Regions from separate parts of the Homo sapiens genome. Here region 1 is linked to region 2. The links are contacts of gene promoters, found by promoter capture Hi-C in blood cells and fetal thymus (Javierre and others, 2016). All regions are on one chromosome and are shown on one strand. Each heading gives the region's core, a stretch centred on a gene start or on the middle of the fragment in contact. The rest is flanking DNA. Distances are from core to core; before and after follow the strand shown. Region 1 overlaps AK8 (adenylate kinase 8). Region 2 holds the start of CFAP77 (cilia and flagella associated protein 77).

Evidence for each region. Contacts are between HindIII fragments. The CHiCAGO score rates a contact against its expected background, and 5 or more counts as called.
Region 1: a fragment that was not itself captured here is called in contact with the fragment with the promoter of CFAP77 in region 2 in 3 of 17 cell types (activated CD4 T cells, naive CD4 T cells and naive CD8 T cells); the score reaches 5.9 in activated CD4 T cells.

Annotation. Positions count from the first base shown.
Region 1 is chr9:132,768,301-132,771,700 of GRCh38, forward strand. The region is part of intron 11 of AK8 (adenylate kinase 8); the gene reads right to left. Among named protein-coding and RNA genes, the nearest start is that of GTF3C4, 100 kb to the left of the region's middle. RefSeq lists enhancers at 1,672-1,731, 1,842-2,136 and a silencer at 2,002-2,301. The HindIII fragment of the contact is 5,506 bases long and covers 1-3,400 here.
Region 2 is chr9:132,408,016-132,411,789 of GRCh38, forward strand. It overlaps CFAP77 (cilia and flagella associated protein 77), which reads left to right and starts at 2,196. Exons shown (of 6, transcript NM_001282957.2): 1 at 2,196-2,451. The coding sequence starts at 2,257. It overlaps LOC105376304 (a long non-coding RNA gene), which reads left to right and starts at 2,626. Exons shown (of 3, transcript XR_930405.2): 1 at 2,626-3,716. RefSeq lists a silencer at 3,304-3,353. The HindIII fragment of the contact is 3,866 bases long and covers 266-3,774 here.

The DNA of each region.
Region 1 (3,400 bases), core at 353-2,852, 360 kb after region 2:
CTTGTTGCCCAGGCTGAAGTGCAATGGCGCCATCTCAGCTCATTGCAACCTCCGCCTCCTGGGTTCAAGTGATGCTCCTGCCTCAGTCTCCCAAGTAGCTGGGATTACAGGCATGCGCCACCATGCCCAGCTAATTTTGTATTTTTAGTAGAGACGGGGTTTCTCCATGTTTGTCAGGCTGATCTCAAACTACTGACCTCAGGTGATCTGCCCACCTCAGCCTCCCCAAGTGCTGGGATTACAGGCGTGAGCCACCGTGCCGGCCAACTTTTTAATTGTTTATGCCTTTTGGATCAGCAATTCCATTTCTATGAATTTTCCCCAAGGAAATGATCAAAACATATGCAAAAACAAATACAAATGCATATGTGTGTGTATATATATGAATGCTAGTTGTTGCATTGTAATAGAAAAAACAGGAAACACATGTCTGCTAACAGAGGGTATTTAAATACATTATAATACATCTGGACAGTCTCATGCTATGCAAACACCTAGTGAGCTGTATCTTTATGCAGTGATAGGGAAAGATGTCCATAATATTTTATTAAGTGAAAAAGCAAGTTACAGAAGGATATATGCAAGATTTTATTTGTCGTTAAAAATCTCCATGTTTTAAAACCCACTGGAAGATGAGTCCCAGCCACACCACTGCAAGGCTTCCTTAATTGGTCCAATCATCTATTTATTAGAGTGAGTGCAATACAGTTCCTGCCCGCATGGGGGGAAACAGGCTGGGAGGAGGGCCAGGGGCAAGTAAGTGCTAGGAGGGGAAATGGGAGGGGGCTGGGCGGGCACTGTGGGGAGGGGCAGGGGTTCCCAAGGCAACGTCGAAATCTCCAAATACAGTGGGCCTGACGGGGATGACAGAGAGGCTGAAGAGACAGAGCCGTCCTGCACAGTCCAGGCACCACCCTGCCCTGCCACTGCCTGGCGGGCATCTTGAGCTCCAGACCCTTAGCCTCTCCGGGCCCCCCAGTTTTTTCCGGGTAAGAGACTCGAACTGATGCTCTCTAAGGATTCTTCAAGCTCTGAAATTCTCTGCTGACATTTGCCAGCAGCAAGGTTGACTCGAATCTGAAACCTCTGGGGAAAGTGGGGGCCTCTCCCAGAATGGAACCCTCTCTGAACACTTTCCCGGGAGGGACCTTAGACTGTGCTGCCTGTTGCCAGCGTCGCAGGCAGGAGGAGCGCAGTCACTATGGGTGGGGTGAGTGCATGGGGGAGGGAGTGAAAGAGCAAATGTCCAAGGAAGGGCATAAGAGAAGGGCTCCAGCAAGAATGCAAAGGAAGATTTGTCTAAAATGGCTTTTCAAGGCGGTCATGAGCTTGCCTCTAACCCAGCAAAGCGTGTGGAAGAAACATCGGCAGTGAGGGCTCCCATCTCTCATTTCTCAAAGAGCCGAGACTTTCAGCGAGGCCACTTGCCATTCCTGGTAGGTAATCAGATCGCTGTTAATTAATAAAGCTGTCAGGTGGCTCGTCCTCTCTGGTCATTAGTATCCTTTCAGAAAGAGAATCCTGCCATCACCGCCTTGTCCGCCCCTCCGCTTGCCAGCAATTAACTTAATGCTATGCAAATGAGAGGCTCTTCTCATCATTAGCTTATAGCCACGAATGTTAATCGCATAATTGGGTCTTCAACAGGGTAATTAGACACGATTTCCTCCATTAGTCTTACAAGGCTAATTATTGTTGAGCGGAGAGGGGGACTGCTCCCAGGGCTCCAGGCGAAGAGGGGCATCTGGTTAAAGCGAATTCGGGCGCATCGTCCGCCAGGTAAAAACAGCAGTCGCGATCCATTGTCACAGCCCACTGTCCCCACCCATCGTGGGGACCGGGCTAGGGAGGGAAACGGAACCAGGGGAAGGCCTGGGGGGGTCACACTCGTGCCCCTTGCCTGGGTCCTGGGATGCAGACAACGTGGCATTTAAAAGTGAAAGCGGAAACAAACAGCAGCCCCGCCAGCCCGGGCCCGGAGGCCCAGCCCCGCGCCAAGGGCCACCCCTCGGCGCGCTCAGCTTCCCTGGGCCTCTGCTGCTTCCTCAGTGCCATGAGGACCGCGCTCGATGGCGTCCAGGGGCCTCTGGGTTTGACTTTCATGGCTATGAATCTCGGAATGAATAAAGAGCCCAGAACGCTGGCTGGGGTAGGGGGTGGGGCAGGGGCGAGGGGACACCCTGTGGAGGAGCGGGCTGGGAGCGCGGGGGATGCCCCTCGCCCTGCACGCGCGCCCTGCCCCTGGCTGTAACCTGAGCAGCCCGCGTGAGGGTCAGTGGTGACTTCCGGGATTGAATTGGCTGGGAAGCCGGTCCCATTTCAACAGAGACCTGGGGCAGCGCGGTGGGCAGCGGGCTGGGCCGAGATCGAGACCGGGACAAGGCAGGGAAGAGCGGGATGGGTCGGCCCCTTCAAGGGGAGCCCTGGGGCGCAGTGTGGGGCGGTCTTGCTCCCTGTTGACCCCCATTCCCCCTCCCCTGGATCCAGGAACCCAGTGGGCTCTGGAAGCAGCTGCTGAGTGCACGGCAGACCCCCTGGCATGGGGTTACACCTTCTCTCAGGCCCAGCGGTGTGGGCCTCCCCAGTCAGGGAGATGCTTCCCCCATCTCATCTCAGTGGGGAGGGAGCAGCTGGTGGCCTCGGCAAACGCAGCACAGGAGATGGGAGGGTCTGGCTGAGCAGGGGGCCTCAGGAGGCCTCTGGGAAGCCAGCAGGGCAGGTGTGGACTTAGTGCCAGGGTGACCTGAAGACTCTGCGCTCAGCGGCTCAGAGCACAGGAGTCCAGGGACTCCGTCTCAGTCCGAGTCCGTCTCCACTGCCATGATGTGCTGTGTGATGAGGGCAAGACACTCAGCCTCTTGGAGCCTCAGTTTCCTCAGCTGAAAGGTTCGGGTGATGCACCCTTTCCTGGTCTTGCTGGAAGGACTAGGAGGGAAGAGGTAGGCCAGGTGCACAGCCCAGGGCCTGGCCCTCCTGCCCACAGGAGACAAGAGACTATGGAGGAAAGTGCTATGGCAGATGGTGGTCAGGCTTACACTGTGAGAATTATGTCCCTGTCAACAGAACGGGCCAGGAATCATGCACATGGCAGCCCTCTCTGGATGTTTTTACGAGATTCTGTTTATGAAAATGTGTCGCCTTCCCTGGATCGTACAATCCTCCATCTTTATATGCTTAAGCCCCTACCACAGGCTCTCAATAAGGCCATTAAGGGGTCCTTCATGGACTGAAAGGGCGCCTCTTGTAAAGAAACAAACCCCAAGGTGTCACTTGATTGAAATGTGAAGGCAGAATGAAGGTAAGCTGGAGAGTACTGGGTCTCCATCCATCTAGCATGTTCTGACTGCAATTCCCTTCAAAAGGCTCAAGGCTCCCACCTTGTTATGGCGGTGTGGCTCCA
Region 2 (3,774 bases), core at 946-3,445:
CGTGCAGTTGGAGCTCCGTCTGGAGAAGTCTGTAAATGTGGTGTTGTCCACTGTTGATATGGAAGGCCTTGAAGTCCAGGTCCGTCATTGGTGTCACGTGTTCTGTGGTGACCCCACTTACCCAGAGCCTTGTGGTGCTAGTGATGCATGAATGAACCCACAAAAGGCTGGCACTAGAGGAGAGATTAGATATCATCCAGTATCGATTCAGGAAAACTCCAATAGTGGTTTCCAATCCTCCTCCAACTGCACCAATCACCTGGGAAGCTTTTTTTTTTTTTTTTCAAATGCAGAGTCTCAACTTTGCAATGGATTTTATATTAAACACTATTGTATCACATTAAAATCTTCGGACATGATAATGACATTGTAGTTACACATGGGAATGTCCTTGCTACATGATGACGTACTTAGGGTTAAATATGGTGTTGACAGATATTTTTCAGGTGATTCTGTAATGTGTGTATGTGCATGCTCACAGAGAGAGAGCAAGAAAATGTGACCAGTGCTGGGGACGGGTGAATCTGTTAGTCCAAACTGCACCATTTTGTAAGCCCCCTGCCATTTTGCAGACCTTGCTTAAAGTGAAACATTCCACGGGGGTTCAGGCAGTGAGAAACAGCCTGCCTCTTATCATATTCTGCTGGGAGAAAGTGACAGGAACATCACGTTCCACCAGAACAAGGGCCAAACTGCCTCATCATGGGAATACCTTATCAACATCTTCCCGGGCAGCAGGCCATACCCACCGGGCCCCTCCCCGCCCAGGCCTATAATTTCTCCAGCCTGTAAGCAGCGGTAGGCACTGGCATTAAGCTGGTCTCCCACCTCTGTAGGTCTCATGCTGGACATAAAGCCTGAATTTGCTGTAGAGCCGCCACTCTTTCTTTAACCCTCCCCTTCCCTTCAAAATCTAACCGAATCTAGGTGAAGCCTATATGTATTTTCATTGTATTCTTCTTTCGACTTTCAACTTTTCTGTAGGTTTGAACTTTTTCACCAAGTTGTGGGTGGGTGGGTAAGGGGATTTTTAAAAATGCAGCATCTGGCCTGGTGAGGTGGCTCATGTCATTATCAGAGCAAGACTCCGTCTCTTAAAAAAAAAAAAAAAAGGAGAGCCTCAGATGCCATTTCCAGATATTCTGATTTAGTGAGTCTGGGGTGAGTCCTGTGAATCTTCGTTTTTCTTTTTTTGGCACATGGTCTCATTCTGTCATCCAGACTGGAATGTAGTTGCCGAAACACGGCTCATTGTAGTCTCAACCTCCTCAAGTGATCCTCCTGCCTCAGCCTCCCCCATAGCTGGGACCACAGGTGTGTGCCAGCACACCTGGGTAATTTTTTTAATTTTTGGTAGAGATGAGACCTCACCATGTTGCCCATGCTGGTCTCAAACTCCTGGGCTCAGGCCATCCTCCCTCCTAGGCTTCCCAAAGCAATGGGATTACATGGGTGAGCAGCCAAGCCCAGCCCAAATCTGTATTTTTCAATTTCCCTTCATTCTGTTGCTTAAATTTGGGAACCATTGATGTAATCCAACTCTAGCGTTTCCTTGTCACCCATCTCACAGGAAAAAAAGAAAAAAAGCCCTTAGGATCCAAGAGGGTGACTTGCCCGAGTCCTCCCAGTGGGTCAGCATCAGCATCAGGCTTGGAATGCATTTAGTGCTCTGTCTCAGGTGTGTGTGTGGCGCAAAGAGCAGAGGTGGGGAGGGGTTGTGAGTGGAATGGGGGTGAGCAGAGGATGGAGTCTTCGACTTGGAAGACAAATGTAAATGACCCTCTATGAGCCACGCCGCTTTGAACGCAACCCACTGGAGATTCTCGGTTCTCCTGTATCGATTCAGGAAAACTCCAAACAAGTCCACACTGGTAGCCACCAAGAGTTTCTTGAAAGAAAAGTACAAGCCGAGCCGGGCTCTGTTGGCGTCCCGTCGCCAAGGAGACGGGCCGTTGCATTCGTCCTCCAGGGGTGGTCTTGGTTTTCTTTCCTCTCCCAGTCTGCAACGCGGGGCCCAGGAGACGCCCTGAGGATCCCGCGGGGCTCCTGCATTGCTCCGGGGCTCTTTGCGATGAGGGGCCGGCGCGAGCGGGGCGCGCCTGGCTCCGGAGGGGTCCTGGCATCTGAGTTTCCCCCTCAGGATCCCGGTGGTGCGGCCCGGGCCGCCCGGCAGGCCCTTCGGAGCTCCAGGCTGTGCCCGACGTGGGGAAGCGCGCCCAAACCAGCCCGCGGGCCGGCTCCCCGGCGACCTCAAGGATGCCAGAGGCCAGGAGCTCCGGCCCGGACCTCACGCGATGGAGGAAGCAGCAGCAGCCTGTGCGCCGCACGGTCAGCCAGGTCTGCCCGCCCCCGCGGCGGCCCCTGACCGTGGCGGACATCCGTTCCGGCATGGAGAACGAGCGGCTGGGGGTCGTGCGGGACTCCATGTTTCAGAACCCTCTCATCGTCAAGGTGAGCACCCCACGCCCACCGCGCTTTCGCTGTCGCCGGCTCCGGGCACCTGCGCCGCCGGGGGTCCCCACCCGCAGCGCCCTGGCCCCGCGGCCCGGGGTCCGAGCGCAGCGTGGGAAGCTCCAGCTCTGGTCCAGACAGGCCTGGACCCCCATGCAGGTCGCGTCGCCTCTCTCAGCCTCGGTTTCCCCATCCTCACAGTGGGATGATAATGGCACCACTAAAGGGACTGATTGGGAAGATTGAATAGGGTAATTTCTGCGGGACCTCGGGACAGCGCCTGACATGGGGTAAGGCTGCAATGGGTGCTGCTGTGGTTTCCCACAGAGTGAACCCACAGGGTGACAGATAGGTCGCACACGCCCAGTCTAAGTCGTGGCTGCCAGCCCTCCCAGGGTAAAGGCCGCCTCTCCGGTTCCGCTGCACGCCTGGGGTACGTCTATGCAGCGGTGGCTCCGTGTCTGTCCTGGAAGCATCACGTCGAATGTTCATTTCCGTTCGATCATACTAATTTCTTACCCAAATTACAACCCTAAGAGAAAAAAAGCATAATCTTTGGCCTAGGAGGCTCCGCAGACAAGAATGAGGGAGCTGCGGTTTCGGGCTGGATCACTTTCCCTTCCATTACACTTCCCTCCTCCCCACCTTTAGCCTCGCTTCCCGCTGATGGGAAACCAACACTGCTGTGGCGGCCACACCTTCCCGGGGGCCACTGGAGAAGTCAGGCTGAGGCTTGGGGGTCAGGGAGCAAGCCTCGAGGCGAATTTATCTTGCGCCGCTGGAGGGCAGTGCGCCTTTAAAAATGCGCCCCGCGTCCCAGGTGCGGGAGTGGAAGGCGCAGGTGGTAACCGTGGATTCAACAACAATTATTTGTGTGACCGCCAGGCGCTGAGTAGAGCCCAGAGGTGGTGGTGGCGGTTTGTTTTTGTTTTGGGGAAAAGGGAACCCGTGCTAGAATTAACTGAGTTAATTGGCTCCTGGCAAAACATTGACTCCCTCCTCTTGCCTTCCCTAAACTCGGTCCTGAGAGGAGGAAGGATACTGCCTAGGCGCAGGCTGCACCTGGGGGAGGCTGGCTTCCCACACTCGTGCCTTTCCATCGAATAGGCTCCTTTCTTAGGCCTCTCAAAGTGGAACAAGGTCCTTCACTTACTTCTACGTGAGAAGAGCCACTCTGAGTGGACAGGCAGGACAGGCAGGTGGGGCCCATTATTCTTGGATGAAGGAGAGAATCACGTCCGCCACCTCTGACTACCTGCATTAAGGTTAGGTCGTTGCTTTTGTTCAAGTAGTTAGTAGTGAGCCAACTTCTTCCTACTGAAG